2 separate regions of the Homo sapiens genome follow, and region 2 is linked to region 1. Evidence: promoter capture Hi-C in 16 types of primary human blood cells and fetal thymus (Javierre and others, 2016). All regions are on one chromosome and are shown on one strand. Each heading gives the region's core, a stretch centred on a gene start or on the middle of the fragment in contact. The rest is flanking DNA. Distances are from core to core; before and after follow the strand shown.

Region 1 (4,419 bases), core at 543-3,042:
TTGGGAGAGTGGATGGAAGATCTTCCAGATTGCTTAGGGCTCATTTCCTCTCTCCAGGCCTGGGCTCTGACAGGTGTCCCCCTACTCCACCCCAGCGCATGGAAAACTCATCCTCCAGGCTGAGGTTCTAGGCAGCCCTCCCCTCCCCACTCAGCTCCCAGGTGCGAACAGCTCCAGGTTTTGACGACAAACGGAACGCGGAGCCTTGGAATCTATAAATATGAGACAAAAGCTGGGGAGGGCCCTTGGCGGCAGCGCAGCCGCCCATCGCCCAGAGCCCGTGTGCTGAGCCCGGGCAGAGCCGCATCTGCCACAGTGCTTGCTTTTCCAAGCTGCCCTGATTATAGTGAGAGTCGGGAAAATTAAGGGTTTGCAGGATGCTGCTGGGGCCCTCTCTGCCGTCTCCCCGCCCTGCGTGTCACAGATGCCAGGCAGAGCCACCCCCAACGGCCAGTTGCCCCTGCTGGCAAGACCAAGGCCAGCCTGGCAGGGCTGCACACCGCAGTTTGTTAGGGGCTTCTGCCCACAGTCCTCGTGGGAGCCTGGCCCTGGGAGTAGTGGGGGTCTCTGCTGCTCTTGGCAGGCAGAGGAACTAGGGTCCAGAGAAGGAAAAGAACCTGTCCATGGCCTCCAGAGAGCCAGAGCACTGGGGCCTCCGACGGAGCCTGGCTGTGGAGACCCCGCCCCACCCATACCCCCAGGGCCTGGACCCCCAGTCTGCACTGGCGGCCGACCTTGGCCATGCGGACTTTGCACGTGCAGTGCTCCCTATCCATCCGGCCCCGCTCCCGGGTGCCCACTCTGCTCCCATTCTGCCGGCTCAGGAGACTCCAGCGCGTCGCCCACGCTGTTCCTGCCCTGAGGAAACCACATTGGGGATGGGGTGGGGCACAGACGAGGAAGGAAACACCTCTAAACCAAGCAGGAAGCGGAAACGCTGGGGCAGAAATTCCCATCCAACGTGCTGGGGCTCAGGGAGGGTGAGCGCGCCGGCTGAGCCGCTCTGGGCGAGGCCCTGGCCTCCCTGAGCCTCAGTTTCCTCGCCTGTAAAGGGGCAGGAGGATAGTACCTGCCGCGAGGTACTGAATGGGATGGTGGTGTCCGAGGTTCGTGCGCGCCCACGCGCTGCAAACGCTCAATGAGGCGGCCCCGGGTCCAGCCTCCTTCCGGCTCCCGGGCCTTTCTCCGGCCTCCCAAGCAGGGGCTGGCCCTGCCCCCAGACGCAGGCGGGTCCAGGCCTGCCCGCACCCTCGCCACCCGCCCGGGACAGCGGCGGGTCCCCAGTCCTCCGGCCGCGCCCTTGGTCACCCGTCCCTCCTTTCCTTCCGCCGCAGGGGCGCGCGTGTCAGGGCGCAAGGACCCCGCGATAGGACCCGGGCGCTCCCGGCGGCGCGCGGAGGCTGGGCATCCCCGCCCCACCCGAGAGTGCCCAGTTCCCAGGAGACCCGGCCCGGCTCCTCCCGGGCCAGTGAAGCCTCCACGGCGGGGGCGCAGCGCGGAGGGGAGCGGGGCGGGGGGCCGGCCACCTCCCGCGCTGAGCAGGGACCGCCCCAGGCGTGGGTGGCGCCCGCCCCGCCTCCGCGCCCGCGCCCGCGCCCTGCCCTCCCGGCTCGCAGGTACTCACCGCCCGGCGCAGCCGGCCCGGCCGGCGACCGCCAGTCCACATGGCCCCAGGGCAGCCGCGCCGCTCACCGCCGCCGCCGCTACCGCCGCCCCCTCCCCTCCGAGGCCGAGCGCGCCGGGAGCCGGCGCGGCCGGGGCTCCCCCACCCCGCCCGGCTTCCCGCAGGGAGCGCCCGCCCCCCGCCCCCAGCCCGGCTCCCCGCCAGCCCCGGCCCCGCGCAGCCGCGGCTGAGCCCGCGCGTCCTCCCGGCAGCGCCCGGCCGGGGCGCAAGTGGTGGGCGCAGGGCCGGGCAGGGGCGCGGGGGTGCGGCGTGCGCGGGGGCCAGGCGAGGAATGGCAGAGGGGCAGGGAATGAATGAACCCGCGCCAGCTTGAATGGCTGAGCGCGTGAATGAATGAGTGCGGTAGAGCATGCGGGGCTGGGGGGGCGGGGGGAATGAATAAATGAGAGAACTAATGCACGGGCGCGAAGGTGAGTGACAGAGTGAATGGGCCCTTGAAACCCAGAGGCTGTCAGTAATGACCTGCCCAACCTTTTCATCGGTCCATCCATTCAATCCCTCAACATTTATTAGACACCTAGTGTGTACCAACCAGCCCTGCTGTAGGCCCCAGGGGGTACAGTAGCGAGTGAAACCAAGCTCCTGCCCTCGCAGAGTCACATTTTACAGATGAGGAAACCCTGGCTCCCAAGGGTGCCTCCTGGCCAAGCTGCCCCTTACCCTGCCCTTGCTCTGCCCGAGCCCCCAGTCGGTGGCTTCCAGGGCTTGCCTTCTCCCCAAGGAGCTCTCAGGAAGGGAAGGTGGCTTCAGGAGGACCAGTGTTGCCCCCTGCCTATCCCTCCAGTCTGAAGCATCCCACCGACCTGCCCGGTAGAGCCCAGGCTGGCCAGTCCTACCCTGGTAAAGGTGCAGCGTGAACCCTCCTCTCTCCTCCCAGAGCGGGCAAGGGGCAGCCCTGAGGGTGCCAGCTACATGAGGGTCTTCCATCCCAGCCAGCCCAGCAGCAGCCAGCGTGGGAACCCGGGGAGGAGCACTGGCAGCCAGGGAGGGTCCTGCGTGGTGGAAACAGAGCTGGCAAAGCCCGTGTGCTTCGCTCATATCCTCCCTCGGGACCTATGGGCTCATGGTTCACACATGCTTATATCATTTCCAAGTACATGGCAGATTAGAAGATGCTGCGAATGAGTACCTTGTATATTTTTGTTTTTTAATTGTGGAAAACATGGAAAACATAAAATTTACCATTTTAACCACTTTTAAAGTGTACAGTTTGGGGACACTGAGTTCCCACTGTTGAGCTGCCATCACCACCATCCTTATATGCTGTATGTTGTATGCTTTGCAGTTTCTACGCTCTCTCATTTAATCTGGGGAGTAGGTTGCTACATTCAGGCAGTGTCAGTGCTGAGAAAAGGCACTGATAGCAAGGCAAGAGGGGAAACCCAGAAAAAAAGGAGACAAGCAAAAGAACCAGCAGCTGACTGGAGCCACTTCGTGTCAAGCAAAGTCCTGTCTCTGCTCCCTCTCAGGTCCCAGGGACATGATTGGGTAACCAATGGACAGAGGGAGGCGCCTCCAAGTGCACCCCACCACAGTCAAGACAAAATGAGAGGCGGCAGCTCAGGGCGGGGCTCTCCCAGTTTGGGCGAAGCGTGGACAGACTTCGCCCAAACCGTCGCTGGTGTGCACCACGGGACCAGCCTCTTTGCTCAAGGGGGCCTTAGTCTCCCCAGCAGGAGTAGGGACAGGCTCCCTGACCTCCACTCTGGCCTCTCAGGTTCAGACACCATTCAGGCAGCACACAGCAGTGGAGGCATCCTGTGAGAGGTAGTGAGGCCCAGCCTGCCAGCTCCAGTGTCCCTTCCCTCCCCAGTCCCTAAGGGGACAAACACCAATGGGGGATGTGGAACCTGGGGTACAGGCAGGGCTCTGCCCACATTGCCTCCTCCTGGGCTGCGGCCCTTCCCCAGAGGCTGGTCCTGCTCAGATGGTGCCAGAATGTTCACCGCCCGCCCTGGCACTGCTGCTGCCAACGCCACAGATGGCTGGGGAGGCGGGGGAGGGGCGGGTGGGGTGGGGGCGGCTCCTGCTTCAGCTCCAGCAGCTTGCAGGCTTCAGCTCAGGCCTGCCTGGGAAGGCCCCAGGAGAGCCCCTCCCCCATGCTGCACGCACCTCCCGTCCCCACCCTCCCTGCCCTCTCTTCTATCCTTCCCACTCCAGCCCCCTTAAGCTAGGAAGGCGGAGAGAAAGCAGGCATTGGTTGTGGGTCTGGGAGCATCCCTGCAATGCCCCTGTAGGGGAAGTGGTACTAGCCCCTTTTTGCAGATGGGGAAACTACAGTCAGTGCAGCAGAGCCTGGGGCATCAGGCAGGCTTCCTGGAGGAGGCAAGGTTTCAGCCGGGTTGGGAAGAAGGGATGAAAGTGGCAGGACTTCGAGGTGATGCCCTGGGGCCATGGAGGACCCTCTCCTCAGGCCCCTGCCCTCATTCAGACCTCTACGGACCACTCTGTTTGACATCACCATCCCCATGGCTCAATCTCGTTGCCCTATTTTGTTTTTTGCGTGTCTCTTACTGCGTTCCAGAGCTATCTGATCTGTCTGTTGATGTGGACATCAATCTCCCCGCTGGGATGCGTGGTCCTCTACTGTGGTCAGGGAGCAGGGCAGGAAGTGGCACCACACTGGGGCTCATGGTTAAATGTGCCAAAGAATGCATGGATGGATGGAGGTGGGGGAGATAGGAATAGCCTGGTGTGATGCCAGGCTTCTGGCCCTGGTGGCTGAGTATAAAAGA
Region 2 (4,419 bases), core at 695-3,194, 200 kb before region 1:
TTTTTGTGAAAAGTAAACGATATTAGTTGTGAATCACCAAGTGCAATGCCTGGCACATAGCAGGCACTTAGTGTGTGCTCGAGTTCCTGCTTTTCCCCAAGAATTTCCTCCTTTCCTTGACTTGTGCTCATGTCTTATTTTACGTAAGTAGCCATGGAAGCATATCAGCTTCACCTACTAGACTTTAAGCTTCCTGAGCCAGAACCCATTTTTATATTCCCCAGCATCTGGCACAAAATTGTGTACATGTTAAGTGATCGATAAAAATTAAAACAAATTTTTTGGATTTTATCGCAAGCCTTTGGGAAGGGATTGTCTTTTGAGTGGATAAATCATATTCGCCACTAGGGTGCACAGTAAGACTTAATATAAGCAGCTCATCCAAGCTTCTAGAATGTGGAAGAATCCTTGATTCAAGGTAACATTTACTGAAAAATGATTTCTTTCTGATCAGGAGAAAAACAACACAGTCCAACTTATTAATCTAAAGAACATGGAGTGCCAGTTCCTTCATATCCTTAAAACGTAGCTTCGGAATTCATACATTTCAACTGGACACATTACAGTGGAAAGATACTTATTTTAATATGTTCTAAATGTTCTGTGAGCTGTAAAATATGCTTTTATTAGTTTTGAAAAATTTACAGCTAGAGAAATTAAGTAAAATAAAACAATGACTCATAATTCTGCACCGCTGCTCTTTCCTGACGATCCCTTCCTCCCCTTGTCTGTGAACGTGCTTGTTTTTTTCATAGCTGTGATCCCAGCACGGATACCCTTTTATATACTCTTTTCATCTCCCAGTGAACTCTTTTGGCTTAACGTGTTTGAACACCCACTGCACGTAAAGGTAGAAATTCAGACTTTGATGCCTTTTTTTGAAGGAAAACATGTACGTGGCCTGCGTTAACCAAAAACACAACCAGCCGTTATTGAATGCTCCCATGTACAGAACCCTCTGCCAGGCACTGAGAGGGAGTCCCAAAGGAATAAGACCTTTGGGTGGGTGACAGAAGACCCACCAGGGACCTTCTGTACCTGTATGAAAACCTGCAGTTCTGAAACACAGAAGGTTTTTAAAGAAAATATATGAATTAGATGTTGTTTATTTGCTTTACAGAATAATTTGCTCTAGAAATTCTTTCAGTAACAAGCTTCCTTAAAATACTTTGAAAAAAAACCTTTTAATTTTTGACCATGAATGTAATAGATGCTTATTGTGAAAAACTTTAATGATGCAGGAAATATGAAGTATGAAGGAGAAACAGAAATCATTGATAACTCCCAACCCCAAGTCAGTGCCTCATTAACATGAGGGGCCTCCCTGGTCGGGGGCCCTACATTCCTATCTGTTTACATAATTGGGCTTATTGCATAGTATGTGCAGTTTTGAATTCTTCCTCTGCTGCCCAATCTTCTGTAACGTGTAAGGGGAATTTTTCTACCTTATTAAAAACTTTTCCCCAAATATATTTTTATAACTGTCTCAAGTTTCATACTTTGCTCCATCATTTCCATGTTGTTTCCTATAATTTCCTGCTTTTGTTTAAAAAATAATCAGTATTACAGTGAATATGGCTATACATAAATATTGTCTTTTTTTGCTGCCTTAATGCAGTTAAGATGGGCTTTGAGGCCAGGCGCGGTGGCTCATGCCTGTAATCCCAGCACTTTGGGAGGCCGAGGCAGGCGGATCACGAGGTCAGGAGATTGAGACCATCTTGGCTAACATGGTGAAACCCCGTCTCTACTAAAAATACAAAAAATTAGCCGGGCGCGGTGGTGGGCGGCTGTAGTCCCAGCTGCTCGGGAGGCTGAGGCAGGAGAATGGCATGAACCCAGGAGGCGGAGCTTGCAGTGAGCCCAGATCGCACCACTGCACTCCAGCCTGGGTGAAAGAGCGAGACTCCATCTCAGAAAAAAAAAGAAAAAGATGGGCTTTGATTTACACCCAGGCATTAGCTAAAGCCCTTGTGTGTGGTGAGAGTGGGACCTGATTAGATTGGCAAACCTTCAGTACCACTGTTGTACTCCTTGGCTCCCATGCCAAATCTTCTGCTTGGTAGCTGTGTGACTTTGGGAAAATCACTTAGCCTCTCTGATCCCCTAGTTCCTCACTGGTAAAATGGGGATAATTGGTAAATGGCCACCAATTAAGGTTGTTGCTGTAGAGCTGAAATGAGAAGATCCAGCCTAGTGCCTGACAAGGGAGAGGCTGAGGAAGCATGTTTCTGATTCCCCTGTACCTGTCTTGATTAGTTATAAAACAAAGTGTAGAAAAGACAAATCACCCAGAATCCTCCAACTTACTGTAACTCTTGTTTTTTGTGAATCTTTTCATTGTCTCTATGCACACGTTTTTAAAGCGTTTCAATCTCAGTGTTCTTGAGATAAATACTTTTAGAATCTAAAGAGTTTGAGGATTGTCTGTGCCAAGCCATTCATGCACTCCCTTTTCATGTACTGAACACTTGGCAGGTCTGTGTTGGAGAGCTGGTTCCCTGTCCCCAAAGTGGTCACATTTAAAGCATGGATGAGAGGATGGAGAGCGCTAGCCATTGCTGAGTGCTTACCATGTACTAGGCATGTTCTAAACGCTCCGTCTCCTCTTCATTACAGGCCTGAGAGGCCACTTCTGTCCTCATTCCCATTTTACAGATGAGGAAATTGAGGCACAGAGAGGTCAAGAGACTTGTCCGTGGTCACACAGCTAGTAAATGATAGAGGCAAGCAGGGAAGCTTCAGACTCAGAGCCTGAGCAGAAAGAGCTACCACCACTCACGCTGCCCTCCTGCCTCTGAGAATAAGGGATGGAAAAGCGCATCCCCTTCACCCAGGTGGTGTCCAAGCTCTATCCCAGCTTCCAAATTTTGTGGTTCTGTTAAGGGACATACAGAGAAGAGATGATTTCTGGGGTGGTTTGGATTTGCATTTTTATGTATCACAGGATCCTGTTGATTTATCATTGTTAGTGAATCTGATTACATTAAGATATCTTAGATGTGCTTTGTAGAAAGTGATCTATTTCACATTCAAAGACAAGGGATTTATGGCTCTAAGTGCCAGAGTGAGGGTTTATTTCAGTTTTGAAAGAATTATTCTTGATGGATTTTACAAAATGAGATTGAGAAATGATTTGATGTGTGGAGTGAGGAGTTGTGGAGCATTATGCAGATGATTGGCAATTTATTCTAAGCACGAGGCAAATCTATTGGCAATGAGAGGCGCAGCTGGGAAGGAGGTTTGGGTGGTGGTAGTGGGCCTTTGGTATTTGGGGAGTGAATGATTAACAGTGCATCCAGGGTAATTAGATGAAGGTGAGGAGAGAATTGGTGATGTGTGTGTGCGCATGTGCGTGCATGCATAGCGTTCATCTGGTTCATTTGATAGAGGCCCATAGAGGGGAAGACACGCCCGAGGACACACAATAGGTGTTTGGATGCTTCCTAGTCTGGACACTATATTTGCTTCTCTTCTTTCCCACCTTCCAGAGGACTTTCAGAATCATCTGAATTACCCCAGGATTGGGAGTGTGGGGCTTTAGACTGGTTGGCAGCAGAGCTGCCGAGCCTCTGGGAAGAGCCATGAGATTCTGAGCTGGAATCTTCTCTTCGTGGGAAGTGAAGTTTTTTTGACACTCCTCCTCCCCCATGTGAAAGCCGCGACATTTCTGAGGCCAACAAATGAGACATTTCCCAGTTCCAGTTGCCTTACAATCTTGTATCTTACAGAAAAAACCTTGGGTTGAAGAGGAATAAGAAAAGGAAAGTGTAGCAGAACCCAAGCTGTGTTTTCTGCTTTTTAATAACTTCATTCCATTTAACTTAAACAGTTCAGTGTACCAAGGGCGGGGCCTTGTGCTCGCCAGAAGCTGACAGGAAGAAAACAGCCGTGTGAAGGTGCAGCCTCTGTCCTCGAGAAGCAAGCCTCATTCACTCTCATCCCATGTCATTAAGGGAAGGATAGAGCAATTTGGAAAAATGCTTTTAATGTAATTGAAAAATGCAGATTGCAAAATTGGCGCACTTAGGAGTCGAGACAGTCTAGTAAATTATTTCTTGTTGCTTTTAAAACTCGGAGACAGTAGACTCTTAAAGGTGCTTGTCTAATGCCCAGTGATGGCCTGTGTCCAAATGAGTTGTTTTAGATTTAATTTGTTTTATCATAAAAGTGGTAAAATTTTGGGAAAAAATGCAAGAAAATGGCAGAAATTAAAAGATAAACCATAGACCCTTCATTCAAGCCTAATGACCATGAACATTTTGCAAGCAGCGTTTCCTTCTAGTCTTTTTTCCCTACATATATCAACTAGTTTTAATCATATGGTAGGTACTTTGTTTTTGTAGCCTGCATTTAAAATCATAGGGTGGTCATTTCTCCCCCAGATTGTTAGTATTATTTCCTCTTAAGAGAAGGGTT

Evidence for each region. The method cuts DNA at HindIII sites, captures the fragments that hold promoters and counts their contacts. A CHiCAGO score of 5 or more calls a contact.
Region 2: a fragment that was not itself captured here is called in contact with the fragment with the promoter of BEGAIN in region 1 in 4 of 17 cell types (megakaryocytes, M0 macrophages, total CD8 T cells and 1 more); the score reaches 6.4 in megakaryocytes.

What each region holds. Positions count from the first base shown.
Region 1 is chr14:100,585,625-100,590,043 of GRCh38, forward strand. It overlaps BEGAIN (brain enriched guanylate kinase associated), which reads right to left and starts at 1,793. Exons shown (of 7, transcript NM_001385089.1): 1 at 1,625-1,793. The coding sequence starts at 1,666. The HindIII fragment of the contact is 6,858 bases long and covers 1-4,419 here.
Region 2 is chr14:100,384,978-100,389,396 of GRCh38, forward strand. The region is part of intron 2 of WDR25 (WD repeat domain 25); the gene reads left to right. Among named protein-coding and RNA genes, the nearest start is that of WDR25, 11 kb to the left of the region's middle. The HindIII fragment of the contact is 1,585 bases long and covers 1,153-2,737 here.